6 separate regions of the Homo sapiens genome follow, and all the other regions are linked to region 1. The links are contacts of gene promoters, found by promoter capture Hi-C in human tissues and cell types (Jung and others, 2019). All regions are on one chromosome and are shown on one strand. Each heading gives the region's core, a stretch centred on a gene start or on the middle of the fragment in contact. The rest is flanking DNA. Distances are from core to core; before and after follow the strand shown.

Region 1 (4,833 bases), core at 1,915-4,414:
ATACATATGTAACTAACCTGAACGTTGTGCACACGTACCCTAAAACTTAAAGTATAATAATAATAATTTAAAAAAAAGAATGGGAAAAAAACAAAAAAACTCCACACTTTAGAAACATTTCTATCTTGTATACTGAACAAAAGGTGTGGAAAATGAGGGAGTTAAACCATGCTGCTTCAAGCATCATGCTACATGTTGAAGGTATTTATCCTGTAGTTCTCCTTTAACAAACTGCGTCATTTTGCTGGCTGAAGAAACTCTTGCAGCCCATGTTTGTCTTGAAGACAAATCCTGTTCAGATTTCTACAGCGTTCTCTCCTTTTTACGTCCACGTTCACAGCAACAGCTGGGAGGAATCAGGGATGCTAGATGAAATACTCAACTATCCATTGCCAATAATGGTGGTTACCAAATGACTCCCAACTCAGTGCCATTCAACAATGAACGTTTATTGTCATGTTCATGAGTCTGCAGGTTGGCTGAGTCTGGGAGATCTAGGATGGTTTCTACTGGACTTGCTTCCAAGCTGTAAATGGGGCTTAGGTCTGTCCTGATTGTCTCCTTAGATCAGAGGCTCCCTGAGGCATGTTTATCTCATGGAAATGATAAGAAACCCAAGAGGGAAAGCCCAACCTCAAAGCATATTTTGAGCCTTTGCTAATATCACATCTTCAAACATGCCATTGGCCAAAGCAAGTCACATTGTCCAACATCAATGGGATGGATAAATAAACAGGGTGTCTAGTAAAAACTGTAAGGTCACAAAGAAAAATGTGTGGACGCAGAAAGGAGCAGGGAGCAGAGAGCTATGATGCAATAAACTACCACAGGAGGCTCAATCTACTTCTTATTTTGCTTAGAGCTCATTGTAACTCTCCAATCTCCTCTTCTAGTGAGCGCAGCCCTGTCTTGCCTTCCTAAGCCACTGTGACAGGTAAAAACTATTTGGCCAATAATCTTTCCAGTAAATAACAAAGAGATAGAAGGAGAAAAGGAAAAGAAAGGAAAGGAAAGGAGGAAAGGAAAGGAAAGGAAAGGAAAGGAAAACAATTTGGTATGATCAGTTGTAAGGACAATTGAGAAGTTCTGGAGCCCTGGAAGCAGAGTTTCATTGCAGTACTCTGAAGTAGAGAAAATCGACTTGAGACGGTGACTGATACCTTCTGTGAGGTAATTAGCAAGCCAAGGCTGCTGGCTAGAGGGACTGTGGACCATTCAGGTTTTAGTTTAGGGACATGTGATCAAAATGAAACCAGTCAGTTTTTCATGAAATTCTTTGTAGCAATTGGCTTCCAAGCACAAGGCAAGACCCTCAAATGACAGCAAGAGTCATGGGTCTTGTTCACCAGGTTATCCATGGTGATTACAATAGTGGCTAGTATACAGCTGGCTACCAATAAGTATATTTTAAATGCATTGAAATATTTAATAGCAAATTTCTGTATTGGATTTTGGTAATCTTTTGACTGAGTTCATAAGCATTGGGCCTTGGAGTCCTGAGGGCAGAGAACAGGGAGAATGAAGGATTAAGAGAATGTAGTGTTTCTCTCCATTTTTCTCTCTTCGTATTCTTTCTTCTTTTTAAAAATCAACCTTTTTGAGATATAATTTATTTAAAACAAACTGCACTCAATTTAGGCGTACTTACAGAACTTACAAGTTTTGATAAACACACACACGATATAGAACATTTCCGACATGCTCATCAGGTGCTCGTAGCCCTTCCCTGTCCATCTCTACCTATCCCTGGCCACAGGCAAGCTTTCTGTCAACATAGAATATCTTGCCTATTCTGCAATTCCTACACATGGAATCAGGCAGCATACAGTCTATCGTGTCCGGCTTCTTTTACAAAGCTTAAAGTCGCGATTCATCCCTGATCTTGCATGCCCACTCATTTTTATTGTGGAATAGTATTCCAATATTTGGGCATACCACAGTTTGTTTATCCATTCACCTGTTGATTGACATTTGCAGGCTACTAAGAAGAAAGTTCTTCACATCACTTTACAAGTCCCTGCAGACTTGAACGTTTTCATTTCTTTTGGACAAATACTTAGGAGTGGAATTTCTAGGTTGTATGATAAGTAAATATCTTACTTTATAAGAAACTATTCTCCAAAGTGGTTTTACTATTTTATATTCCCTCCAGCAATGAACAAGAGTTCCAAGCTATTTCTCTCTCCGCCCCCCCACCTCCCGCGTGTGTCTCTCTCTCTCTCTCTTTCTCTCTCTCACACTCACTCACTCTCTCTCTCCCTCTCCTCTCTCTCCTTAATAAAAAAAAAAAAAGAGTTCCAGTTGCTCCACATCCTTTCAAGCATTTGGTATTACCAGTCTTTAAAATTTTATCCATTCTGGTCCTCCTCTTTCCCTTCTTCCCTCCCTCCCTCCCTTTCTTTCTTGAATTGAGAAATGTTTGTGGAAGGAGTGAAGACAAACATTCCTGGACCTATGTTCCTAAATGAGCAAGTTTCTATTAATAAGACTCTCCCCCACCCGCCACACATCCTACACACTCAAGGAGAGGAGCGGGAGAGGGCACCCTCTTTCTTCCTCGGAAAATAAAACCTTTGCTTTCTTTAGGATGGGCTTTCTGTCTCGAAAGCACAACGTAACCGTTTGCCCGGGTTTCAAGATCAGCGCGCTGCAAACTCTCAGGCGCGGCCAGGTTTCCTCAAAGAGCCTCTCAACTGCGCTCTTCTCTGCTGATAAATGATAATTCTCTTCAAAAAGCTGGTTTGTGGCTGGCGCTGGAGAGCTCCAGCTAGAGCCAAAAGCCAGGGGTTGCCTCTTTGGTTCCTCCCGATGGGCCCCTTTTCCCAGCCAGTTGGGATCCAAAGACGCTCCGGAGCTCGAGCCCAAATTCCCAAGAAAACCCCAAAGAGCGTAAGGCTCCTGGGGACCCCTAGCACCTCTGCAACCAGGGCACGGGGCATGCTCAGAGCGAATGCGGGAGGCAGGCGTTGGCTGCAATGGGGCTCGGGAGCCAGGAGGTGCCGCTGCGTCCCCGCTTCCTGGCGCCTGACCCAGCGTGCAAAGTTGGGCTGGGAGCCGCGGGGGGAAGGAAGGACCCAGCGAGCGAGGGTGGCGGGGAAGGGGGGCGGGGGGGAGGAGGAGGGAGGAGGGAAAAGAGCGGTTAGGGGGGGCGCCGGGCGTGTGTCACTCGCTCTCTCCCTCTGTGTATAGAGGATGTGCTGAATGGTGCGCTTTGAGGCGGCGGCGGCGGAGGAGCAGAATCCGCCGCGACTGGCAGCCTCGGCTGACCGGCTCGGCTTCTCTTCGCCTTCCGAGGCTCCTCATCCACCGCGGGCTCCAGACCTCGCGTCCCGCCCGGGGCATGGCCGGGCGCTGCGCCCCCGCGCGCTCTGCCTGCTGAGCGGCGCCGGAGGGAGGTGCGGAGGCCGGGAGGCCGGGGAGGCCGGCGGGGAGCAGAGTCGAGCGCCTCCGGAGCAGAGAAAGGAGCCCGCGCCCCGCGCCCCGCGCCCCGCGCACGGTCCCCAGTCCCTGCCGCGCTCGCCCGGGCCGCCCGGAGCCCAGATGAGCCCAGATGGCCGGGGCTCAACCCGGAGTGCACGCCTTGCAACTCAAGCCCGTGTGCGTGTCCGACAGCCTCAAGAAGGGCACCAAATTCGTCAAGTGGGATGATGTAAGTATTGGGGCGGCCCGAGTCGGGGCGCTGGCTCGGGCACCGGGCAGGGCGGGCGTCGTGGGGGTGGGGCAAGGGGCGCGTTATGCAATGGGCGCACTGGGAGCGGGCAGGGGCAGCCTCGGGCGCACAGGTTGGCATCTGCCAAAGCGGATGTCCAAGGGCAGAAGCTTTGCGCGCGCTCCTGTTTCATCGGGCTTCAGTAGTTGCCATCCTTTCTGGGTCTGGCAGGCGCCCCCTGAGGGTCTTACATCTTTTGGGCCAGTGGAGAGGGAGGGGCAAGCTTTGCCTGGTGACAGGTCCTGAGAGTTCGGAAAGTAGGGAGTGTGAAGTTGGGACCAACTGGAAAGCGCCTGGTGTGAACAAATCGCGTCCCTCTCCGCCTGCGGACGCACCCCCTATTACCTCTTTTGCCCGATTTCAAGAAGGAAGGACCTGAAGTTCAAAACACTTTAGTGATTGCGAACCCTCTTGGCGCTTTTGTGGGAGCCAAGGCGGCGGAGGACACAACGGTCCAGCCAACAGGTGGTCGTTGATGCCAAACTTCAGCGCCTGGCTCCGGAGTGAGGGTCCCTGAAAAGGGCTGCGGGGACACATCTGGGGAGGGCGTGAACAGAATGGGGGCCCTTGAGGGGTCCTGGAGGGCTCATGGGCCTGCAGGCAAGTGGGGAGGGCTGACTTTTGAGAACTGAGCTGATTGGAGTCTTCTGCCTGAAATAGACAGGTTGAGAGTTTGCCCCACGATTTACCTGCACCGTTTGCCAGGTAGGGCAGAGCCTAGCCCAGCGCCGGGGTCTCTAATGCTTTACGAGCGGCCCAGACCCCAGGACTTCAAATGACTTCCCCTTCCCCTCTACCCCAGTTGTCTTCAAAACACGTAAATTAGTTATCCAGCTGAAAACATGCGAATCTTCGGATGGAGAACATTATGGTATCAGTTTTATGTCCTGGGTGTCATTCTAAAGGTTCGATAAGAAAAACCTACTGAAATAAACCCGAGTTGCCAGGCTCTAAGCAAATTTAAGTCCAAATGACTAATACATCTCTTAATCAGAAGGAATTATAGGAGAATGAGGCGTTCTTCTTGCCGAAAAGATTTTCCACCTAGTAAATTATAGCCTGTTATCCTCTAGGGTATTTTTCTTTAATCTTCTTAAGCCATTTTCCAGTGTCTGAAAACAATT
Region 2 (4,440 bases), core at 1,841-4,340, 380 kb after region 1:
GTGAATTCTAGGGTAATTCTATTTTCAGTTCTTTGAGGCATATCTATACTGTTTTCCCTAATTGGCTATACTAGTTTATATTCCTGCCAACTGTGTACAGGGGTTCCCTTTACTCCACATTCTCGCCAACGTTCGTTATCTTTTGTCTTTTTGATGATAGCCATTCTAACAGGTATGAGCTGATATCTCACTGTTGTTTTAATTTTAATTTCTCTGACAATTAGTGATATTGAGCATTTTTTCATAAACTGGTTGACCATTTGTATATCTACTTTCAAGAAATGTCTATTTAAATTCTTTACCCATTTTTTTAAAAAATTCGATTCTTTGTTTTCTGCTATAAGATTGTTTGAGTTCCTTATATATTTTGGATATTCACTCCTTATCAGATGTGTGGTTTGCAAATATTTTCTCTCGCTCTGGGTTGTCTCTTCAGCACAGAAATGGACAGTCGCACGTTACCACCTGTATGATCATTATTTTAAACACAAGCAGGAAAAGCTTTTGGGTTCCAAAGTTTCAGTCATTATGATTGAAAAACTGCCAAACTGGTAGTGAAACATTTATTGGATTGGGGATTAAGCTATTCATTCTTTTCGCATTAAAACAATGATGTAGTTTTATTCGTAAATCTATAAAGTTAAGTGCACAGTCATCACTTTTAGTACGTTCTGATTCATTGAAATCCTGTAAAATTTTATGGAAAAATCTGTGTAAACAAGCTTTAAATAAGGCAATATTCCAATACCAAAACTCGGGATTTAGGCATAGGTGCTATATTTACAATTCTTAAGTAATTTTCATGTATTTCACATATTTTTAAAACTCATGTTACAAAATAGCCTAATTCTCTTTACTTTCTGTGTATGAGGGAGGAATTAACATTTTGTAATATAAACCTCCCAAAAGTTATTCAGAATATTTCTAAAATAAACTGTTTTAGATTCTTGGAGAAATTCTGTGATGTCAAAATCTCTTTCCTTTTTTTAAACAATAAAAAACATTGTGGCTTTGTTTTTTTAATTGATAAATAATAATTATATACATTTATGGGGTGCATTTATGGGGTGCAATGTATACATATATCAAATTTTACCCCATATTGTACATTGGGTACAATCTGTACCCTCATAATACAAATTGTACCCCAATGTACAATATGGGGAGCAATTTGATACATGTATACATTGTGGAAGGAGTAAATCCGACTAATATATCCATTACCTCACGTACTTATCATTTCTTTGTGGTACAAACATTTCAAATTCATTCTCTTAGCAATTTTGAACTATACGTTATTATTAACTCTAGTCACCTAATGTTTAATGGATCACCAGGAATTATTCCTCTTGTCTAATGGAAACTTTGTACCCTTTGACCATCATCTCCCCTTTTACCTCCCACCCTCTCCCAACGTCTGGTAGCTACCATTCTACTTCCTACCTCTACGAGTTCGAATTTTTAGATTCCACATATAAATGAGATCATGTAATATTTGTCCTTCTGTGCCTGGCTTATTTTACTTAGTATAATGGCTTCATTTTTTTAAAATGTTTAAACCAAAGGTTTCAATACATAAATCTAGACACAAACAAGTACTGTGTGATTCCATTTTTTATAAAGTTCAAGAACAAGCAAAGTTGATCAAAGACAAGAGACAAGAAACTTTCAGTAGTGTTGGACATATTCTTTAATCTTTGTGGAGGCCACACAGGGATATAGATGTGAAGAAATTCACTAAGCTATGCAGTCAGTATTAGAGCCCCTGGATGTACATGTGTTATGCAGTAATGAAGGGCACACACACACTCATTCATTCACACACAGCAAAAGCAATCTATGAAGTGACAACACGACACAGTGAACACTGTTTTCATGGTAAAGTTGCAATAAGACAAATTACATTATTTTTACAGTATAAACAATTATATTCAATTAAATGCACGAAGTGTGCTAGAATATATTGGATAATTCGGAACGAATACCTATACTGCAGGTGCTGAAGCCAAGAGAGAAACATCCCCATTGAAGTATTGTAAGAATTCTGTCCCCCCTGCCAGTTGCTATGAGATATCACTGAAATATGGTAGTGTTTTCTAAAATCTACTGCATGAGGATAGGACAAACATGCTTTCAGTGAAATGATAAAACGCTACCAGAACTAAAAGAAACAAAAGTGGTCAGGTGCAGTGGCTCATGCTTGTAATCCCAGCACTTTGGGAGGCCAAGGCAGAAAGATCGCTTGAGCTCAGGAGTTCAAGACCAGCCTGGGCAAAATAGTAAGACCTCTGTCTCTATTAAAAAAAAAGTTAAAAATAACAACAAAAAATTAGCTGGGCATGGTGGTGTGTGCCTGTAGTCCCAGCTACCAGGAGGCTAAGGTGGGAAGATGGCTTGCCCCAGCAGGTTGAGGCTGCAGTGAGCCAAGATCATGCCACCCCATTCCAGCCTGGACAACACAGTCCCTGTCTCAAAAAAATCAAAAAAGAAGAAGAAGAAAAAGTATTTTAAACCTGTCATTAAGAAGAAAAAAGATGTAATTACACACTTAGGGAGGCCAGAGTGGGCAGATTGCTTGATCCCAGGAGTTTGAAACCAGCCTGGGTGGGCCGGGCATGGTGGCTCACGCCTGTAATTCTAGCACTTTTGGTAGGCCGAGGTGGGCAGATTGCCTGAGCTCAGGAGTTCGAGACCAACCTGGGCAACACGGCGAAACCCTGTCTCTACTAAAAATAGAAAAATTAGCCAGGCGTGGTGGCGTGAGCCTGTAGTCCCAGCTACTCGGGAGGCTGAGGCAGTGGAATCACTTGAACCTGGGAGGCGGAGGTTGTAGTGAGCTGAGATTAGGCCACTACACTCCAGCCTGCGCTGGGCAACAGAGCGAGACTCCATCTCCAAAAAAAAAAAAAAAAAGGAAAAAAGAAACCAGCCTGGGCAACATGGCAAAACTCCATCTCTACAGAAAAATACAAAAAAAAATTAGCAAGGCATGGTGGTGTGCACCTGTAGTCCCAGCTACTCAGAGGCTGAGAAGAAAACAGATTATCTACCGTAATAAAGCAAGAAACCCAATCCCTAAACAATACTGTGCCCCATAGAGTAAAGCCGTTTCATTTCTCTTTTAGTACTTTTTCTACCCTAACAAAGAAAATTGTGGCTAAAAGTTAAAACAAAAACAGTATCTTTTTGCTAGTTTCATGATATATCTTGTATGTATGTATGGGTGAATATTCTTATATTATTATTTTTGGTTCATGTAAAGTAATTTTTCCAAGTGAATATCTAAGACCAATGCTTCTGAAACTTTAATAGTCATACAAATCACCTGAGGATTTTGTTAAAACTAATATTCATCTCCAGGAGTTCAGGGGTTAGGCTAAGATTCTGAGTTTCCAATAAGTACCCAGGTGATAGTAATGCTACTGGCCTACACACTACTCTTTGAGTAATAAGGTCTTAGATTAAAGTGGACTTGGGCCCACTAACATTGATTAGCTTATGACAGGAAGACAAAAAACAAAAACAAAGGAACAAACAAAAACATAGAAGGTAAAATGTTAAAATCAAGGCACAAAGTATTGCTGTATGGAAAGTGTCTGAATTTTCAATATATTCAGCCCTGGAGGAAGAGCTTCCCACTACCACTTATTTACTGTTTCTGTTCTAAACTGGCTATAATAGCCCTTCAATTATAGAGCTGTTTCAGTAATAGCATCTGCTTCATTATAACAGCAGTTTTATTAAACTAATAGTTGTTAGCATGAAGACACCATTACAGTAAATTACATTTATAATTATGGCTCTAAATATACTCAGGTTGCATACAATTATTAAAAATTTCCACCCTAATCATTTACCTTTCCTGAAGCTTTCCTCCTATCACATAGATGCTGTGAGCGTGTGTTAGTGTATGCAGGCTTTTCTATGAGGCTGCTTTCCTATATCCCATACAATTATTCAAACTGATGCCTGGTGTATCTAGAAATTTGTATTCCTAGCTCAGAGAGCAGCTAATTAGAACCTCCTTCCCAATCTCTACTTCCCACAATCTGGGTCATTTCCTTGTTTAGTGCCTTGATCAGAAATAATTTATTGTCTGGTTGTGCATGGCTTTGAGGGAGGCACAATATAAAGAAAAGTTCATATAAGAAATGTGCACATTTAACATCAATGCATAACAAACACCCCAAAGCATAGTGGCTTCAGCTAAAAACTGTCTATCATTGCATTTGGGACAGCTGGGAGTGCTTATCTAGATTTGGCTCAGCTGGGCAGGTTAGTTAAGGTGGCTCTGTTACACAGTGTCTTTATTAGTCTGTTCTCATGCTGCTAATAAAGACATACCCAAGAATGGGTAATTTATAAAGGAAAAAGGTTTAATGGATTCTACATGGCTGGGGAGGCCTCACACTCATGGCAGAAGGCAAAGGAAGAGCAAAG
Region 3 (4,459 bases), core at 1,903-4,402, 460 kb after region 1:
GATGGTCCCTGTCTTAATCTGTTTGGGCTGGTATAACAAATTACTGTAGATTGGGTGGCTTACAAACAACACAAATTTATTTCTTACAGTACTAGAGGCTGGGAAGTCTAAGATCAAGGTGCCAGCAGATTTGGGGTCTGATGAGAGCCCACTTCCTGGTTCGTAGACAGAAGACCATCTTCTTATTGTGTCCTCACATGGTGGAAGGGGTGAAGGCTCTCTCTGGGGTCAATCTCTCTCTTTTTTTTTTTTTTTTTTTTTTTTGAGACAGAGTCTTGCTCTGTCACCCAGACTGGAGTGCAATGATGCAATCACAGCTCATGCAGCCTCAACCTTCTGGGCTCAAGCAATCCTCCCACCTCAGCCTTCCAAGTGACTGGGGCTACAGATGTGTGCCACCATGCCAGGCTAATATTTTAATTTTTTTGTAAGGATGAGAAGTCTCATTATGTTGCTTAGGTTGGTCTCAAACTCTTGGCCTCAAGTGATCCTCCCACCTCAGCCTCCCAAAGGGCAGGGATTACAGGCATGAGCCACCACAGCTGGCCCTTGTGGTCTCTTTTACAAGGGTACTAATCCCATTCATCAAGGCTCTACCCTTATGACCTAATCAGCTCCCCAAGGCCCCTCCTCCTAATATCATCACTTTGGTGGTTAGAATTTCAAAATATGAATTTCGGGTGGGGACATAAACATTCAGTTCATTGTAGTCCCACTTAAACTGATGGTTTCAATAATATAATAAATGTAGAGAAAAGGAAGCCTGAACACGGAACTTTGAAAGGGCCTGGTAGGAGCCTGGGAATGACTCAACTGAGACATCCTTGAAGAATTCCTGTTTGTTTTTTGTCCAGAGAGTGCCAAGGAAATTCCCAGCACAATGTACCTATGACAAATTCGGAAGTCGTATGTTGGGAATTAATCCTGCTTTATTTTCATCTCATTATATGAATGTAAAATATATAAGAAATATCAGTTGGGTTAATTTTAGCTCCTTTTATGGAAATTTAATTATTTATACAATAAATTTAGTTCCTTAAAATATAAAATCGATGTCACCTTTTTCTTTGCTCTTTGGTAGTTTTTTTTTGTTGTTGTTGTTGCTATTTCTATTGCTGCTGTGACAAATTACCACAAACTCAGTGACTTAAAACAACACACATTTATTATTTTACAGTTTTATAGGTCAGAAGTCTGACGTAGAGGTTACTTGGCTAAGATCAAGGTGCCAGCAGGTGCATTTCTTCCTGGAGGCCCTGGGGGAAAATCTGTTTCCTCACCTTTTCCAGCTTCATAGACCCCTTCCTCCAACTTCAAAGGCAGCAAGATTAGGCTGAGTCCTTCTCATGCTGACATGTCTCTGGTTCTTTCTTCAAATTCCCTCTTCCACTCTAAAGGGCCCTCTTGATTCCATTAGGCCTACCTGGATAATCCAGAATAATCCTACTTTAATTTTTTTTTTAAGTTCTGGGGTCCATGTGCAGGACGTGCAGGTTTGTTACATAGGTAAACATGTGCCATGGTCATTTGCTGCACCTATCAACCCATCACCTAGGTATTAAGCCCAGCATGCATTAGCTATGTTTCCTAATGTTCTCCCTCCCCCTCCCCGACCTTCCAACAGGCCCCAGTGTGTTGTTCCCCTCCCTGTGTCCATGTGTTCTCATTGTTCAGCTCCCACTTATAAGCGAGAACATGAGGCGTTTGGTTTTCTGTTCCTGCGTTAGTTTGCTGAGGATAATGGCTTCCAGCTCCATCCATGTCCCTGCAAAGGACATGATCTTGTTCCTTTTTATGGCTGCATAGTATTCCATGGTGTATAAGATCAGCTGCTAGCATGCTTAATTTCATCTTCAACCTTAATACTCACTTGCCATGTAACCTAACACATCCACAGGTTTCCAGGATTAAGACATAGACAACTTTGGGGAGCCATTATTCTGCCTACCACATGGGTTTACTTAATCACCAGGGAGACAAAGTAGATAATAAGCACAAAGTAGATAATAAGCAAAAGAAGCCAAAAAAACTTCTGTGTGTCCTGCAACACTAAAGAACATAAAGAATCAAAGAGCTTTATTTTTCATCTAACTCAGTTTGGTAAGATTCCAATTTAGAAGCTAAGGTAAAGGAAAACTGACTTCCTATGGTACAATTTAAATTCAGTATAAATTCAGTGCTTGCCCAAGTAGAATGTCCAGCTGTGGGTACGGAGCAAAGGTGTCAGTAAACTGTATTCACACCCAGGGCACTTAAGAGACGTTATTTTTTGAGACTTGCAATTGATATGCTTTGCACTGTAGGGGCCACGTGGGAATTTCCACCTGAGAAGCATTTGTTGTTAAGCACTTTTTTCCCCTGTCTTTGCTTCAGATTGTATACCTTCCAGGGACAGATATCAGTATTATACATAGCTCTTTGTATATTTTGGGGGGTGACTGAGAAACATATTTCATTACATGTAACTTGCTGGCCATCCCAAATATTACAGTAACAATAACCGGTACAGCTTGGGTATCCCATATCTGAAATGCTCAGGACCAGAAGTGTTTTGAATTTCAAATGTTTTCAGGTTTTGGAATACTTGCATATACATCGTGAGATATCTCGGAGGATGGAACCCAAGCCCAAACAAGAAATTCACTTATGTTCCATATACACCTTATACATGTAGCCTGAAGGTAATTTTATACACTATTTTAAATAGTTTTGTGCATGAAATAAAGGTTTTGTACATTAAACAATCAGAAAGCAAATGTGTCACTACACTATCTCAAGCCCATGTGGCCAATCTTTGACCACTATCATCCCTGTCTCTGAATTTATATGTTACTGATGAGCAATCATCTTCTTACACTTATTCACACCTAAGTACCTAGTAAAAAAATTGACAAACCATTAATACAGTAAAAAAAATAATGTGTTCAGGATAACTAAGCAGCAAAGTAGCATCACCAGATTACTTGTATTTTATCACTATTACCCATAGAGGTATCTGTAGGCCTTTTTGACATTTTCAACAATATCTTTACAGAGCAGAGAATAAGCAAAAAGTAATGCATGCAGGTCTTGGCTTCATGTGGGACATCATGGGGAACCTATTGTTGGCATTTCTGGCCAGCATACGTGCCATTTTATTAATTGTTCTGGGCAATGCTTACAGGAGGGAGTCTGGATAAGGGCAGAAAATATATATTGCAACTGAAGGGGCCTGAGAGGGTCTTTTTTTCCCCTTGGAGAAGCCGAATAAACTGTGTGTTGTGCACCTGCATTTTGACGGTGACTCGTCACATGTGATCAGGAGTGGAATTTTCCACTGTGGCATCACATCATCACTCAAAAAGTTTCAGATTTTGAAGCATTCAGATTTTGGAGTTTTGGATTCAGGATGCTCAATTTGTATTTCTGTTTTTAATCTAGCAGTTACACTGAGGGCCAAGACTCTATGTTAAATGCCCACCATATATTATCTGATTTAAACATCACAGTGATGCTGCAGGGAAGGCCCTGCAGTGGCCATTCTCAATGCTGGCTGCACATTAGGGCCCCCTGAGCAGCTCATGAGATTCCGGAAACCCAGGCTGCACCCAGTCCAGTTAATCAGAATCTCTGAGGGTGGGATCCAGGCCCCTCATTTTTTAAAGCTTCCAGGATTTTCTATCACACAGCCAGGGTTGAGCCTAGATTCATCTGATTCCAAGCCCAGATATTTTTGCCTGCTGAGTAAGTAGTATAGCCCAGGCCTTTCCCCATCTTTTGCCCCAACTCTCTCACTCACAGGCCCTGCCCCCCATATCTTACACGCATACTTAGTTTTTAAGAGACAGAGTCTTGCTCCGTCACCCAGGCTGGACTGCAGTGGCAAGATCATGGCTCACTGCAGCCTCAACCTCCCAGGTTCAAGCGATCCTTCTGCTTCAGTCTCCCAAGTAGCCAGGACTACCTGCACAAGCCACCATGCCCATCTAATTTGTGTGTGCGCGTGTGTGTGTGTGTGTGTATGTGTGAAGACAGGGTCTTGCTCTGTTTCCCAGGCTGGCCTTCAACTCCTGGCTTCAAGCAATTCTCCTGACTTAGTCTCTCAAAGTGCTGGGATTACAAGTGTGAGCCACCACACCCAGCCCCATGTAGGCTTTTATTCCCAGTTACATTTTTGCCCACAAAATGAAAATTATAAATTTTTGAAGTCCTTAGTATAATACCAATGATAATCTGACATTGTTTCTACTGAAAATAAACATTACTGTTATTGGCATTTTACTTTTGTTTTTATTAGATTTTTTATTTTTATTTTTTTAATGGGGTGAGGGAGGTGTCTTTATAAGTAACAGTGATAGTAATTTTGCAATACTAATTTTGATAACTAAGAATGTATCATTTTATATACCAGGAATTTTATGGACTTTGCCTTGCATGTTTTGTGACATTTTTTCGGGGAAGATTCTATTATCAGGAGGAA
Region 4 (5,094 bases), core at 1,269-3,768, 490 kb after region 1:
GATAGTGTTTGGTATAAATTAACCATATAGAAAATATTTGAATAAATTAATTATAGGAGTCAAGAAGTATAATAATTTGAGTTAATTCTTGACAATAGGATGATTTGAATTCTCTTCATATAAAATGGGTGGCATTATAATTCATTTCAAAATATTTCATGCATTAAATATCTTCTTAGGAAGATGCAAGAACACTTGACTTCCCAGTTTTCAAAGGATTTTAAAAATCCTCTGGGAAAATATTGGTTGGGGAGAGAAATGATGGCTGTGAAGAGGGAGATGAAGAGAAAAATGTGAAAAAAGTGAACGAGATTTGAGAACAAAAGGAAAAAATAATTGCCTAAAAATTAATCAGTGCAGGCCAACAACTAAAAGAAGTGACTAATGTCCTGGGAATATTTACTGCTTTTTTGTAAAATTTTTTTAAAATTAAGAGAGCTTTACACTCCTTAAATTTCCTTTCTATTCCCTATTTAGAATTGTACTGGCTGGGTGCAGTGTGTCACACCTGTAATCCCAACACCTTAGGCAGGCAGAGGTGGGAAGATAGCTTGAGCCCAGTGGTTCAAGCCCTGCCTGAGCAACACAGTGAGACCCCATTTTCCACAAAAAGGAAAAAAAAAAAGTTAGAATTGCACTAACAATTCTGGTGATAGCTTTTACAATCATATAACATAACTAACAATAGACACAATCACATAACTCACAAGACAATTTTTTTCTTATTGAAAATTGAGGTCTTAGAGATGACAACTTTGGTCTTCATGTATAATGTGTTTTGATGGATCAATAGTAAGGCATTTTAGAAGACATTTTCTTACTTTCACCTCAAAAGAAGCACACACACACACACAAAGGCATATTGAAGACGGGGCTTATTTAAATGCAACTAGTTATTCCTTATAAAAGTAGACATCAAACCTTATCAAGGCTTTGAATTGTTAAGATCTTTATATCCCTGTGTTTCTGATGGTATATTATTGATTTTTATGTATTATAGAATATAGTTAACCCATGTGTATCTAGAGTAACACAAAAGGTATATAAATAAAACAAAGGAAATAAATCTGAAAATCAAATAGTATTTACTCTTAGAATATTTTTATAACTTTCAGCAAATACGTATTCACATCTATATTTAGCTTTATAGATAAATTACCCATTTACTTCAAACTCCTTCAGTTACCTGTAGTGAACTGGTGGGAAATTTTCTCGCTCCTTTTAACTCCTACAATCATTTATAATTTTAAGAAGAAAAAGAGGCCGGGTGCGGTGGCTCATGCCTGGGAAGCTGAGGCAGATGGATCATGAGGTCAGGAGTTTGAGACCAGCCTGACCAACATGGTGAAACCCCGTCTCTACTAAAAATACAAAAATTAGCCGGGCGTGGTGGCATGTGCCTGTAATCCCAGCTACTCAGGAGGCTGAGGCAGGAGAATTGCTTGAATCCGGGAGGCGGAGGTTGCAGTGAGCCAAGATTGCACCACGGCACTCCAGCCTGGGCGACAGAGCAAGACTCTGTCTAAAAAGAAAAAAAAAAAGAAAAAAAGAAAAAGATAAGTATAAGCTAACATTTATTTCACTGCATTTTTTCATAGCATTCTTAAAATAAGTAATCATGTCAGACTCCACAAAAATGTATTAATTCTTTATGTACATGTGATACATTAGAGTTTGAGGATTTAATTTTGATCACCACACTAATGATATAAGGTGAACAGACATTGCTATTATCATTGTTAAAGCTTTGAGAATATGAGTTGCCTAATTTACAAAGCTAGTTAAATGGAAGAACCAGGAACTGAAAAGATCTAGAAATGACTTGTCCTTTAGCACTCTTTAAATTAAGCTTCCCATGGAAAAATGAATTAAGGGAAAAACAAAATTAAAGTGCAAATGTTTAGAATATAGGTAGTCAAGTATACACAAACCATGAATATATTCCTAAATGTGCACACAAATATACATACTGATCGACAAATCTCAAAGTAAGTAAATGGATATACATACATATACTAAAATGTTCTTGTCTCTATAAGAGATTAAAGTATTCAGTATGTTCCCCCCATATTGTGTTTCATTTTCATTTGTAGAACTTTTCAGTGTCTGGTTCTTCCATTTAACTAGCTTTGAAAATTAGGCAACTTGTATTCCCTGAGCTTCAACTTAGTTTTCCCTCAAGGTGGATGATAATAGCAATGCCTGGTCACCTTACAGCATTAGTGTGGTGATCAAAATCAAATCTGCAAACTCTAATGTGTCACATGTACATAAAGAATTAATATATTTTTGTGGTGACTGACATGATTGATTACTTATTTTAAGTATACTACCAGCTATTAATTTTTTTTCAAGTACTCACAACTTGTTATGTGCGGCTCTCAGCCCTTAACATATAATGATTCATTTATTTCCCATAATAACCTTTTTAAGGGGACACTACTATTATCCTCATCCCACAGTTTGGAAAACTGAGGCACAGAATGATTAACAAAATTTTTTAAGTTCACATTTCTTCAAACGACAGAGCCGGAACTCAAAGCCAGACAGAATGCAGGCTGTCTGGCTGGGCACGGTGGCTCACACTTGCAATCCTAGCATTCTGGGAGGCAGAGATGGACAGATCACTTGAGGCCAGGAGTTTGAGACCAGCCTGGCCAACATAGCAAAAACTCAACTCTACTAAAAATACAAAAATTAGCCAGGTCTGGTGGTGTGCACCTGTGGTCCCAGCTATTTGGGGGCTGAGGCCTAAGAATCGCATGAGCCCAGGAGGTAGAGGCTGCAGTGAACTCAGATTGCACCACTGCACTCCAGCCTGGGTGACAGAGAAACTCTGTCCCCTGCCCCCACCAAAAAAAAAAAAAAAAAAAAAAGAAAAGAAAAGAAACAGAATACAGGCTGTCTGCTGTTTTCCTCCATGTGTCAAAAGCTCACAGCATAGATGATGGATTTTCTTAACAAAGGGAACATCGTGTTTGTCATTATTAATAAATTGTCATCCTCCTTTTTTGATATGTTTGATTTTAAATTATGCTCTGAGGTTTTAGAAGCCCCTTTGACACATCTAACTATAGCACAGTACCATGGAAGGAAGTAGATATCATTACAAAATAGGAAAACTTAAATCTCACCAATAAAGAACTCATCAACTAGGGAGATGCTGCGGACTCATTGTAAAAGTGTCTGTGCATTCTATTAACAAACAGGCGTCATTATGATAGCTAGAAGCATTGACCTTGGATGAAAGTTGAGGGGAATATAATGCTTTTCATGCTTTGTCGGGGGTTTAAACAGGAAGGCACATAGGATCCTAATTGTCTGCTTTGCACACACCATTACCCCTCAGGGCATGTGGATTTTTTATGCATTGCAGTGGTAAGGGCTGTGCATACAAATTTTGCTGGCAGACAGGTGGTAGCATATGTCAAAAAGACTGGGGGGATAGTTTAAAACATGGCTGAAAAGTTGTCTATACTTTAGAATTTTTAAGTTTGACAAATACTGACTCAATGAGGAGGAAAAAGCTAACTACTTTTTCCATTGACTAGTTTTCAAATTGCTATAGTTCATGCACTTTTATTTTCAGCAAGGATGATTGTACAAATAATGATTAAAATTGACCATTTAGCTTCGACTCTTTGCTAGGAAGGCAAGCACTTCCATGAGACCACCTTTCTTTCCTATTTTGATTTCTCATATGCATTATTTTATATTTTTAACAAACTGCCTAAAATATCGCTAAACAAGGTAACTTGAATGAGTGCTATTTAAGTTTTATTCTGCCAATTGAACTATTTGCACTATTTTATATAAACTGCATCAAATTGGATATACTTTGTAACACGGTGTGATATGGAGAGGGCTTAGAGTTTACCATCAGGTGTACTTGGATTCAAATCTCCCTTTACACCATTTTATAAAACTGAGCAAATTACTTCATCTTTCAGCACCTCATGTGAAATTGGAATAACAATAGCTATTTCTCTGTGTTAGTTTGCAGATTAAATAGGTGGAAGAAGATACAGAACAGCTGGTGTGGTAGTTGACACAGTCACTAATTAGAAGAACTTGTTGTTATATGTATCATTTTTATAGAGAACTGAACAGAGTCAGCACTTTGGGAGGCCGAGGCAGGCGGATCACGAGGTCAAGAGATGGAGACCACCCTAGCCAACATGGTGAAACCGTCTCTACTCAAAATACAAATTTAGGGGGTGGTTGGTGGCGCGTGCCTGTAGTCCCAGCTACTCGGGAGGCTGAGGCAGGAGAATCGCTTGAACCAGGGAGGAAGAGGTTGCAGTGAGCCAAGATCACGCCACTGCATTCCAGCCTGGTGACAGAGCAAGACTCTGCCTCAGGAAAAAAAAAAAAAAAGAATCTTAGTAGCCTATCTGATGAAATTCTTTCAATTATAGATCCCATAGAATACATGAAGATTAATCAATATTGAGATAACATTTCCTTATTTCCTATAATCACTTCTTTAATGTTGTAACAGGTGTATTCAATCCATTGATATTCTATTGGCTCACTCACAGAGGTTACCTAAAGAGAGTTCCCATATAGTCCTAAGAATGTTTTCCGGCTATGGAAATGCAAGAGAGCACACCAGGAATGACTGTCCACCAGTGATGGATGAGACTGAACAGATAAATGCTGCAGTTTCCAGGCTACTTAGGGACATCCTAAGATGTGTTCTTCATTCTGTCTCCAAATGGCACTAGTGTTTTGAGCCTCAGTTGCCCAAAATGGTAAACCGCTAAATTAACACAGTCTTTAAAGACCTTCTTCCCTCCTTGTCTTACTTCCCCACTCCTCACTGTGCTTTCTGCAATCATCTCCAAAATAAATTACTTGTCCTCAGATCTTTGATTGGGTCAGCTTCTGGGGCATCCAGACAAAGATCCTGTCTGCCAAGCATGTGTATTGCAACCTGGGAAACTATTAGATTGGTGCAAAAGTAATTGGGGTTTTGCCATTACTTTTGCACCAACCTAATAGCTCAGGCAATGCAACTTTTTGAAATAGGTAATAGCAGCATTTTCCCAGCTCTGAAGCTGTCTCTCCACATTCTGAGCCCAATTTTCTTGG
Region 5 (5,014 bases), core at 1,927-4,426, 420 kb after region 1:
CAGCTATCTCCCCATCCCATACCTGCATCCCTTTACCAGAGGGCTTTCTCTGGTAGACTGTCCTTTTGCATGCTGGAGAGTGAGCTCTTCCAGAGGCAGCCCTCAAACCATGATCTATGGGAGCTGACAGATCCTCAGTTGTGTCATCCCTTAGGTGACAAACTGCACCATCCCTGGAGCATCTCATGGTGAAGTCCTGGTTCCCACAGTGGTAGCTTGCTCAACAGTGCAGCCCTTATTGGCTCTTTTCCATCCTCTTTCTTGCTTTCCCACTCTTCTACCCGTATTTTCTCTGATCACCTCCCAAATAAACTATTTCTCTAGAACTCTTGTCTCAGGCTTAAATTTTTTCTGCAAAAGGGAATGCCTTTGGATTTCTGTAAAAGGGTCTGCTTCAAGGAGAAATGCAACCTGAGAGAGAAGGTCATGGTTTTCACAAAAGGCTGTGGTTACAATGAGATTTGAGGCTTAAATCCAGGCTTGTGTAAGACTGTTATGTGTTACTAGTTGTTAAAATATTGAGTGCTTTTATGCTTGTTTGCAAATAGCTACTTCTCCCAACTCTGCAGTGGTCATGACCACTTCATGGTCATCCATTCCTTCCCATGATTCAACAACTAAAGTTTATTACTTGCCACAACAGGGGCTTCTAAGACCCTCATTAAATGCTATGGGCACCAACTGTTTGAATGATTGGTGTGCTTGCTATGTGAATTATTAAATATTTTAAATATTATTTATGTTTAATGTGGTGCCCACCAGACCCAGATGTAACGTACAGCTTTTCCTTGGACAGTATAGAGAAGACCTTGAAGTTATGTTCTTTTAACTCAGTCTTTAGTATTTCTCTGCATGAAATCCTTCAGCTCCATGTCCAGTTGCACCGTGGTAGATTTGCAGGGAAGTGGATGGATGAAAGAGACAGGAGAAGGAAGAGAGGACAGAACAATCAATACTTGATGATGAACTTCTGGGAAACTGCGAGCATTTCCATTTGAAACAAATAGAGTGTTTCTTATACAATAGCCATATGTATTTGTAAACAATAAAATGCCTGCTAGTGTACAATGGATTGCACTTCTCTGATATTATACTTATATTCTTGGCTCTGCTTTTTTTCTGGATTCAAAATATTCATAAGAAATGAAATATGGAACCAAAAGTCACACATACATACACACACAGATACATTTTATAGTAGATACTTGCTGCTTGGCCCAGATATGTTTTGTGGATTAAATTCTAGGCCCCATGCTGGATGCCAGACTCACTACCCATGTTTAGACCCCTAGACATCAGACATTTACTGCCTGGCCCTGTGCTCCCAGCTGCCCATCCAGGTGGTAAGTTTTATATCTCGAAAAGCTTTTTCAGGCTGATTTCATGGTGAATATGTGTTAATCACCTCAGGGAGTTATTGAGAATTTGGGATAAACTTGATTGGGTGAACAAGCAGCATGTGTCCAAATATAGCTATTCCTGAGCTGTATCTTTGATATATTTGATGATGCTTGAAAACAGTCCGATTTACATCCATCGCTGCATTATAAAGAACAGGGCTGAAGATTTATAAGTTGAATTTTGTTGCAAATGCCAAAGCATGGGCCACAGATAAATCAGTTACCAGAATAAGGGTGATTTTATAACCTGCATGTGTTTTATAGTTTCTCATGACACAATAATCATAAAATTCAAAAGGCACACTCTTGCAAGTGTGAAAAGGCAATTTCAGGGTTCCTTTTGGTTTCTGCTATTGCAAGGCAGGATATAGATACAGTTTCTCACTATTTAGATTTGCTATTGAAGTTTTAGTGGAGTGCCAAAGATTTCAGTCAGCAAGTGTCAGTAAATGATATCAACACAGCTCCAAGTTCAAGGTGGAATCGTTTCTTGAAATAAAGTGAGCATTTGGTGCCCAGAAATCTTGTTTTAAAATACACCAACTTCTCAGTTTTGGAAGAGCTCTTTATTTTTTAAAAATAGATTCTTATTATGTAAGCATACAACTTTTCTTGTATGTTCCTGTTGCTCGTATTTGTACACATACACAGTGAAAGTTATTTTTAAATCTTTTATTCTTATCTGTAACTGCTGACAGCATTTGAGGTGTGGAAACTTTTAAGACTGAAAAATCAAGTAAAGGAAAATTCAAGCAAATGAATACAGAAAAACATTATCATTAGGAGCCTTAATAAAACTGCTGTTTAGCTTGTCACGCTGGCACATTCCTGTAATCCTAGCACTTTGGGAGGCTGAGGCGGGTGGATCACTTGAAATCAGGGGTTCAAGACCATCCTAGCCAACGTGGTGAAACCCTGTCTCTACTAAAAATCAAAACAATTAGCTGGGCATGGTGGTACATGCCTGTAGTCCCAGCTACTTGGGAGGCTGAGGCAGAATAATCATTTGAACCTAGCAAGCAGAGGTTGCAGTGAGCCGAGATTGCACTACTGTTCTCCAGCCTGGGCAACAGAGCAAGACTCCATCTCAAAAACAACAGCAAAACTGCTGTTTAACTCCACAAAAGTCATTACACCACTATACATTCACTAAAATTGCTAAAATTAAGGAAAAAAAAAAAACAGTAGTAAGGCCAGGTGTTGGCAAGATTGTAGAATAGCTGAAACTCTCATACAGGGGTGATATAAAATGGTACAACTACTTTGGAAAACTCTCTGGCAGTTTCTAATAAAGTTAAATATGTACTTACCTCTCCTATGGCCTAACAATTCCATTCCTAGGTATTTACCCAAAAGAGATGAAACATATATCCATATAACAACTTGTAAAAGAATGCTTATAGCCCCTTTATTCATAAAAACCCCAAACTGGAAACAACCCAAATTTCCACCAACTGGTAAATGAATAAACACATTGCGGTATAATCACATAATGGAATACTACTCAGCTATAAATAAAAATGAATTGCTAATGCATTCAGTCTAGTGATGAATCTCAAAATTATAGTGTTTTTGAAGAGAGCTGAAGAGACACAAAATGGACCATACTCTACACTTCCATTTATATTAAGTTTAAAGACAAGGAAATATTCTGCAGTGATAGAAACCAGAATAGTAGCTGATTGTAGAGTACAAGAGGACTGATTGGAAAGGAGAACATTCCAGAGAGAGGAAGTGTATTATACCTTAGCCTGGATGATGATTGCATGGTCATATACACTTGCCAAATTGCATTGATCCATATGTTTATGATTTGCATTATTTGTATATAAATTATACCTCAATAAAATGCTGTTAACATAAAAAAATTGCCCAGCTTCTGAGTTCTTGCTTAATAATATTAGTATCACCTGTTGCTGTTCTACGTTAACTCAGGAGCTAAATTCAAATTCAGTGTATGACAAAATCTTATTTGTGTGAAATTACTGGGACGTGTACTTTTGCATTTAAGAAAATGCTCCAAAAAACTGAAGATTCTCCCTTCATGTTAGAAACTTAAAAATAAAATAAAATAAAATAAAGATTTTTTTGGGAGGAAGGGAATCTTAAGTTAAAATGTCACAAATCTCTCCTATCATGTTAGTCACTTTTTTCTTGACTTGGCATTTGCTTGGTTGCCTTAAGCCTTTGTCTATTTTTCAGAGTTCTGACAGAGTTGAGTTTGATAATTTTTGCTGGTTTTATCAGTGTTTTCGTGGAGAAATGGGCCCTTGGGGCTCCCTACTCTGCTGTTTTTGCTGACTTCACCACCAACCCTCATATTCTTAACTCTGTATCCTTAATAGGGTTGAATGGGTTTCAAAAGGCAAGGTAGGCAATGGATCATGATACTAAGTCAATGATAGGAGCTTTGAAGTGAAAGAGGTGTTTCTAACAAAAAGTAGATACACACTCTCCACCTACACTCCTCTTCCTCCATCATATCATACAATTCAGAAGCAAGAAGAAAACACAAACTCATAGACTGAGGCCATCCACCACTACCTGAAATGCTGCACCTCACTCAACATGGGATGGGGCTTCGATTGTTATGATTTAAGCACTTCTGAAAACACACTTTCTACTTCCTGTTTGGTCTTAAGTCTTCCCTGGAAAGGTCATCTATCTCCATGTATTTCCTATAAATATCTACCTCTCTTATTAAGTGTTACATTCAAATGTGACAAATTAAAATCAAGTGGAAATATTTTGTGTTAATGATAAGGTAAAGCCAACTGTGTATGTCAGAGTAGAATATGGCATGTGCTCTTATCATAAATATTACAGGAGCTATTTGTTTGTCAGGGCTTCATCAAAACATCTGAAAATTGCTTGACTTGGAGGAGAATAGACTATAATTTCCATGTCTGCCCCAAATAATCAGTCATTGACAACTTAGAAAATTCTTATCAATAAAGATGGAATCAATTTTTTCTATTCCACAAAATGTAAGCATATCATTTTGAGACAAATTTTAAAATCGTTTTAGACTTGACAAATTACATGAAAGAGACACTTAGTCAGAAATGATTTTTTTTAATGAAGTGAAATTTAATAAGTGACTCTGAATGTCTGTTGATGTGTTGGGAAGCCCATCTTTGCTTGACCAAAGATTTATCCAGTAATAATCAAAACATCTAAGTTAGTCTTAGAATTTATATATATTTCCCATCCTGGCTAACACCCTCCTCAGCATGGCAGCAGTAGGAAAGATGGCGGCCACATTCTCTCTATGGGTACCTGATTCTGGAAGGAGCAGAGCAGACCTTATTACCAAAGAATTGTGTTTGTCTGTTTTGACCTGAAGAGTCCCTAAAAGTACTTGCCTTCGTTTTACCTAACTTGGAACTCTCTTAGGGCAGAAAAGCAGCCATGTAGAGGACATTCCTCCAAAACATAGAAAGGTAAATGAACAAGCCTCTGCCACTTAGGGCAAAAGATGATAGTTGTTATAAACAATAGACAACCCTAAATACTGGAAGGAAAAGCTGGAGAATGAGTTACTTTAGAGAATAATTGCTTTGAAAAAGATTCCTTATAATAGAAAACCTAAAAAGTGATGCATATGCCCAGGA
Region 6 (4,622 bases), core at 415-2,914, 290 kb after region 1:
AGGGCTTGTAAAAGATTCTGTAGATATTGAGGAGGAGGTATGTGTGAGACAGAGCATGGGATTTAACATGTATAGTAATGACCTGCTTGGAGATGGAAGGATTTGAGCCAAGTTTTGAAATGTGAGGGTTTTGTTTAGAGACTCTTTCAGGAAAATGAAGCAAACAGAGCTGAGCATCATCCTGGTAGCCTGACTGAAGAGTACTTGGCAAATTAGAGAAGATATAGTTGCAAATGGCAGGGAAGAATGTGAATGCTACGCATAGTGCTTTTGGGAAATAGTCCTTGATGGTGTCTCTTTTACAGTTGAAGAGACAGAATACACACACACACACACACACACACACACACACACACACACAGAGTCGCTTCAGCTGTAAACACATATATATGTAGTTTTAAATACATATATGTGTATACACACACACACACACACACACACACACATATATATATATATATATATTTTTTTTTTTTTTTTTTTTTTTTTTTTTTTGAGATGGAGTCTCACTCTGTCGCCCAGGCTGGAGTGCAGTGGCGCAATCTCGGCTCACCACAAGCTCCGCCTCCCAGGTTCACGCCATTCTTCTGCTTCAGCCTCCTGAGTAGCTGGGACTACAGGCGCCCACCACCATGCCCAGCTAATTTTTTGTATTTTTAGTGGAGACAGGGTTTCACCATGATACACTTATATATTTTTTGTCTCTGGTGTGTGTATATATTATGTATACACACACATATATAACATACGCACCCACATTTATAACACACACATATATATGTATATAACAAATCAAATTTGATCTTAGCACTAGGACTCTGTTGTACCAATAATTCAGGGTTTTTTTTTTTTAGTTCTAGGTAAAAACAGTGTCATTGATTTACTATCAGTGAATTCATGCAAATTCATATATTTGCATTGGTCGAGTGCCTTGTACTACAACTACAATGTTGAATAGAACATGTTCTCTCTTTTAGGGGAGCTCAAGATACAGGCAAACAAATGACTACACTTCAGAGCCATGTCATAATAAAAGTGCCCATGAAATGATATACAATCTAATTCTAATCAGATTCTCCAATTGACTTGCTATTTTATTCCTGTTCTCAATGGACTCCCATGTACTTTGTAAGGAGACAGAATGTCTGAGCAGAGAATCTTTAGAGAGAAAATCGTCAAATACCATCTTGGATACCAAATGTCCATCTTGTACTTGTGAATAATAATTCAGTCTAGCAGGATGTCCTCTTGCAAACTGAAATGAGCCTACAGTCCCATCTGTGGGAAAACAAGAGGACTCCTAAGTGTTACACACAGGATGTTGCTGATCTTGGGTCACCTGGCTAGCACAGGGCAGCTGTCTGCAGTCCTTTACCTCTGGCTGGATTTCCTCCTTCAACTTCTAAAAGTCCAAGGCTTGAGGACAGTTCCCTGGTGAAGATCACCAGCATCTTCTGTGGGCCAACTGAATTGCTGAGGTGGGAAGTAGTAAAAGTCAGAGTTAGGGTCTAGTTTGTCCTCCCTCTCTCTCATTTTGTGTCCAGCTTTCTTTCCCAACTGCCAACCTTGATTTACAGTTCAGTTAAGTCCCAAAAGTAGATGCAACAGCAACAATCTTCAGTGGACTTCAACAGTTCCCTCAGTTTTGTAAGAGTGAATTGCTCTGAAAATCCCCGATTCTGTGTCACTCTAAGTGGCTCTGCCTCCCTGATCATGTGTCAGCTGCATTCAATCCTAGCACCAGCCCAACCTTCAGGCCACCTCCACCATCACTCACTGGGCGATGTGTTCTGTGCTTGAATATCTTCAGAACATGCAGATTTGTCCTAAACAGGCCTAGGAAATGAATATACAATTATACATAAATTTTTATTTTATCGAAATTTGTTGTGAGTAAAATGGCAGTCCCTTATCTACTGATGGAGTACCTTCTAAAAGCTTTCCTTCTTATTCTTTATCAAATTATTCATTTAATATAAATTACTTATATATTTTTATGTATTTTATGTATTTTTTCAGAGATGATCATTTGGGTTTTGAAAAATTATATTGTAATAAAAAATCAAAATATTTACATTTATATGAGGATAATTCCTTTGTCCATGAATTTATGGACTTATTTAATGGTAGTCTAATTTTCTTAAAGCACTAAACTCTAGAGGCATGGGTTGGCTGAAACACACAGATGACTTTGTTGACTCTAACCCAACTATCCTAGAGTAAGATTGGTTCTACTGGGTGAAATGATCCCTCTTCTCCAATGCTTCTGATACCCCATTTCATTGTCTGCCTACACAGAGGGGAGAGGGCAACAGCTGAGGTTTCTTACAGTCCCAAGAGAACCATTTTTAAAACTCAGTCTATATAAAATATTTCCTGGATGTTTTCACCAAAGCTCATTAATGTAATTTTCACATCATTATTGCAGCTAATGATCATGTAAGCGTTCCTGATCATGTGGAAAATTAAAGATGTTAAATTAAAATATTGACACTGATGTTAGTAAGTAATGATTGTTTATAAGATGTCTGGATTTAAAAGCTTTGTTTACTTAATTTGTTAAAAATGGAAGTTTACTTGTCTTTGGTGTAGAAAATTAAACATGTGACTCTGAACTTTGTAGAGTGCTTAACAGCTTTTATAATACTTTTATAGGGGATTTACATTTGTTATGGGAATAGTCTTTTTACTGACTCTGCTTATATTTTCAGAAATGTGTCTTTAGCCACTAGCCGAGGACAGACCAATAAACAGCATCCAAAAATGTTAATGATTATATATGGTTCCAGAATTTACAATGGTTTGTGTTATGATTTTTTTTAATTTTACAGTGGCTGGAAAGTGAAACACATTCAATAAAAACTGTATTTCAAATACCCATACAATGATTCTACTTTTCACTTTCAGCACAGTATTCAATAAGTTGCGAGAGATATTCACATTTCACTATAAAATAGGCTTTGTGTTAGATAATTCTCCCCAACTGTAGGCTAATGTAAGTGTTCTGAGCATGTTTAAGGTGGGCCAGACTAAGATACGATGCTCAGAAGATTAGGTATAATAAATGCATTTTGATTTATAATATTTTCAACTTACAATGGGTTTATCGGAACATAGCCCCAACATAAGTAGAGAAGCATTTTTATTATAGTGATTTTACATGGAGGCAATGGCAGGAAATGGAACCAGCTGTTCAAAAGCATACTTTGTTTGTAACTTAAATGTTTATACATCCAATCTTCTTATAAAGTTTGAATTTTTTTAAGATAACTATACTAGACTTAATGTTGTGGTGGGTTTGTGACTGTCCTTGATTTTAGTCCTCAAATATCTATAGCAGCAGCAGTTTGTATCTGAAATTATTACAAGGGGATTTGCCTATTAGAAATATGCCTAAGTTCCATTATTCATTAAGGTCACAGCAGCAATTCTGATTAATGGAGCTGATTCTTGATAGCTGTGAGGATACTTCCAATACATATTATAACTTTTACAACAGAGAAAGCCCTTAATTTCCTTACCTGTAAAATCTGAGTAATAATTCCTGCCCTATGAATTGTAATGAAAATGAGAGAAGCTCCCAAAATGATCTAGATGAGACAATCAGGTGGAGATAAGACCAAGATGCTAGGAAGTCAGCTAGCCACTTTCTCACATCTAGCAAACTGCTCCTACCTACTATCCTTGCAAGAGGCAGAACTCAGATTTGTCATTTTTAAATATTCAGTGAACCACTGGGCTTATTCAGGATTATTTGAAACTATAAATACATATATTTTTTAAAATTCTTGGATTCAAGGGGTACGTGTACAGGTTTGTTACATGGATGTGTTGCATGATGGTGACGTTTAGGTTTCTAATAATCCCATGGCCCAGATAGTGAACACAGAGCCCAATAGATAATTTGCCTACCTTAACTCCCCACCCTCTTTTGGAATCCCCAGTATTTACTGTTGCCATCTTTGTGTTCATCTTTACCCAATGTTTAGCTCCCACTCATAAGAGAGAACACGTAGTGTTTAGTTTTCTGTGAAACCATAAATATTAAATGTAAGAGTAACAAGAGTCTACTGAATAGCTACAGCAGCATTCCTTAATGTTATCTTTTTGAATAAATACAATTTTGAAAGCTTCAGCCCTGCACATCAGGTCAATGCACTTAAGTAGCTAAACAAGAATGTCATAATTTGGTGCAAGACTGCACTTCAGGTATTCCAAGTATATCTGTGAGAGTAGCAGAAAGGTCCAAATCAGAAGAGAAAATTTGCCATCTTCATTCAGAATTTCTTAATCTTACTGGAAGTACATAAAATCTGTTTTTGTTTTAAATACCCTGATGGAATAGACCAATTTGGCAGTCTGAAAAAGAACTAAAAAAGCCCAGCTGTCCAACAAAGTCATGTCTCTAGGAAGAGACACACTGAGGGAAGGATGTAACTGAGAGAAATAAGACATAGGCCTCAGATTTCCTAGTTGGGCCAATGAGAAGAGTGAACAGCATCATTATGTGGAGAAAGTGAATTATAGAACCTGATCGTTATTTGTGAGCTCATTGATGTAATGAATTTGCTTACACAGTTTATATGTGACAAAGTTTTGTATGTACCCACTTCTCCTTGTCC

Evidence for each region. Contacts are between HindIII fragments. The study calls those that stand out against the background at their distance.
Region 2: a fragment that was not itself captured here is called in contact with the fragment with the promoter of PLCB1 in region 1 in 5 of the 25 tissues and cell types used here (bladder, dorsolateral prefrontal cortex, lymphoblastoid cells and 2 more).
Region 3: a fragment that was not itself captured here is called in contact with the fragment with the promoter of PLCB1 in region 1 in 1 of the 25 tissues and cell types used here (liver).
Region 4: a contact is called between a fragment that was not itself captured here and the fragment with the promoter of PLCB1 in region 1, in 5 of the 25 tissues and cell types used here (dorsolateral prefrontal cortex, heart left ventricle, mesenchymal stem cells and 2 more).
Region 5: a contact is called between a fragment that was not itself captured here and the fragment with the promoter of PLCB1 in region 1, in 4 of the 25 tissues and cell types used here (hippocampus, lymphoblastoid cells, mesenchymal stem cells and 1 more).
Region 6: a contact is called between a fragment that was not itself captured here and the fragment with the promoter of PLCB1 in region 1, in 6 of the 25 tissues and cell types used here (adrenal gland, dorsolateral prefrontal cortex, heart left ventricle and 3 more).

The regions. Positions count from the first base shown.
Region 1 is chr20:8,129,102-8,133,934 of GRCh38, forward strand. PLCB1 (phospholipase C beta 1) reads left to right here and starts at 3,165. Exons shown (of 32, transcript NM_015192.4): 1 at 3,165-3,649. The coding sequence starts at 3,551. RefSeq lists a silencer at 3,251-3,390. The HindIII fragment of the contact is 4,653 bases long and covers 506-4,833 here.
Region 2 is chr20:8,511,550-8,515,989 of GRCh38, forward strand. All of the region lies in intron 3 of PLCB1 (phospholipase C beta 1), which reads left to right. It overlaps LOC124900459 (a long non-coding RNA gene), which reads left to right. Exons shown (of 2, transcript XR_007067518.1): 2 at 1-956. Among named protein-coding and RNA genes, the nearest start is that of PLCB1-IT1, 270 kb to the left of the region's middle. The HindIII fragment of the contact is 4,959 bases long and covers 612-4,440 here.
Region 3 is chr20:8,589,371-8,593,829 of GRCh38, forward strand. The region is part of intron 3 of PLCB1 (phospholipase C beta 1); the gene reads left to right. LOC124904868 (a long non-coding RNA gene) reads right to left here. Exons shown (of 2, transcript XR_007067522.1): 2 at 1,148-1,423. Among named protein-coding and RNA genes, the nearest start is that of RNU105B, 240 kb to the right of the region's middle. The HindIII fragment of the contact is 5,443 bases long and covers 432-4,459 here.
Region 4 is chr20:8,617,894-8,622,987 of GRCh38, forward strand. All of the region lies in intron 3 of PLCB1 (phospholipase C beta 1), which reads left to right. Among named protein-coding and RNA genes, the nearest start is that of RNU105B, 210 kb to the right of the region's middle. The HindIII fragment of the contact is 7,376 bases long and covers 1-5,094 here.
Region 5 is chr20:8,551,513-8,556,526 of GRCh38, forward strand. All of the region lies in intron 3 of PLCB1 (phospholipase C beta 1), which reads left to right. Among named protein-coding and RNA genes, the nearest start is that of RNU105B, 280 kb to the right of the region's middle. The HindIII fragment of the contact is 5,772 bases long and covers 291-5,014 here.
Region 6 is chr20:8,416,610-8,421,231 of GRCh38, forward strand. All of the region lies in intron 3 of PLCB1 (phospholipase C beta 1), which reads left to right. The region is part of intron 1 of LOC124900459 (a long non-coding RNA gene); the gene reads left to right. Among named protein-coding and RNA genes, the nearest start is that of PLCB1-IT1, 170 kb to the left of the region's middle. The HindIII fragment of the contact is 3,341 bases long and covers 1-3,335 here.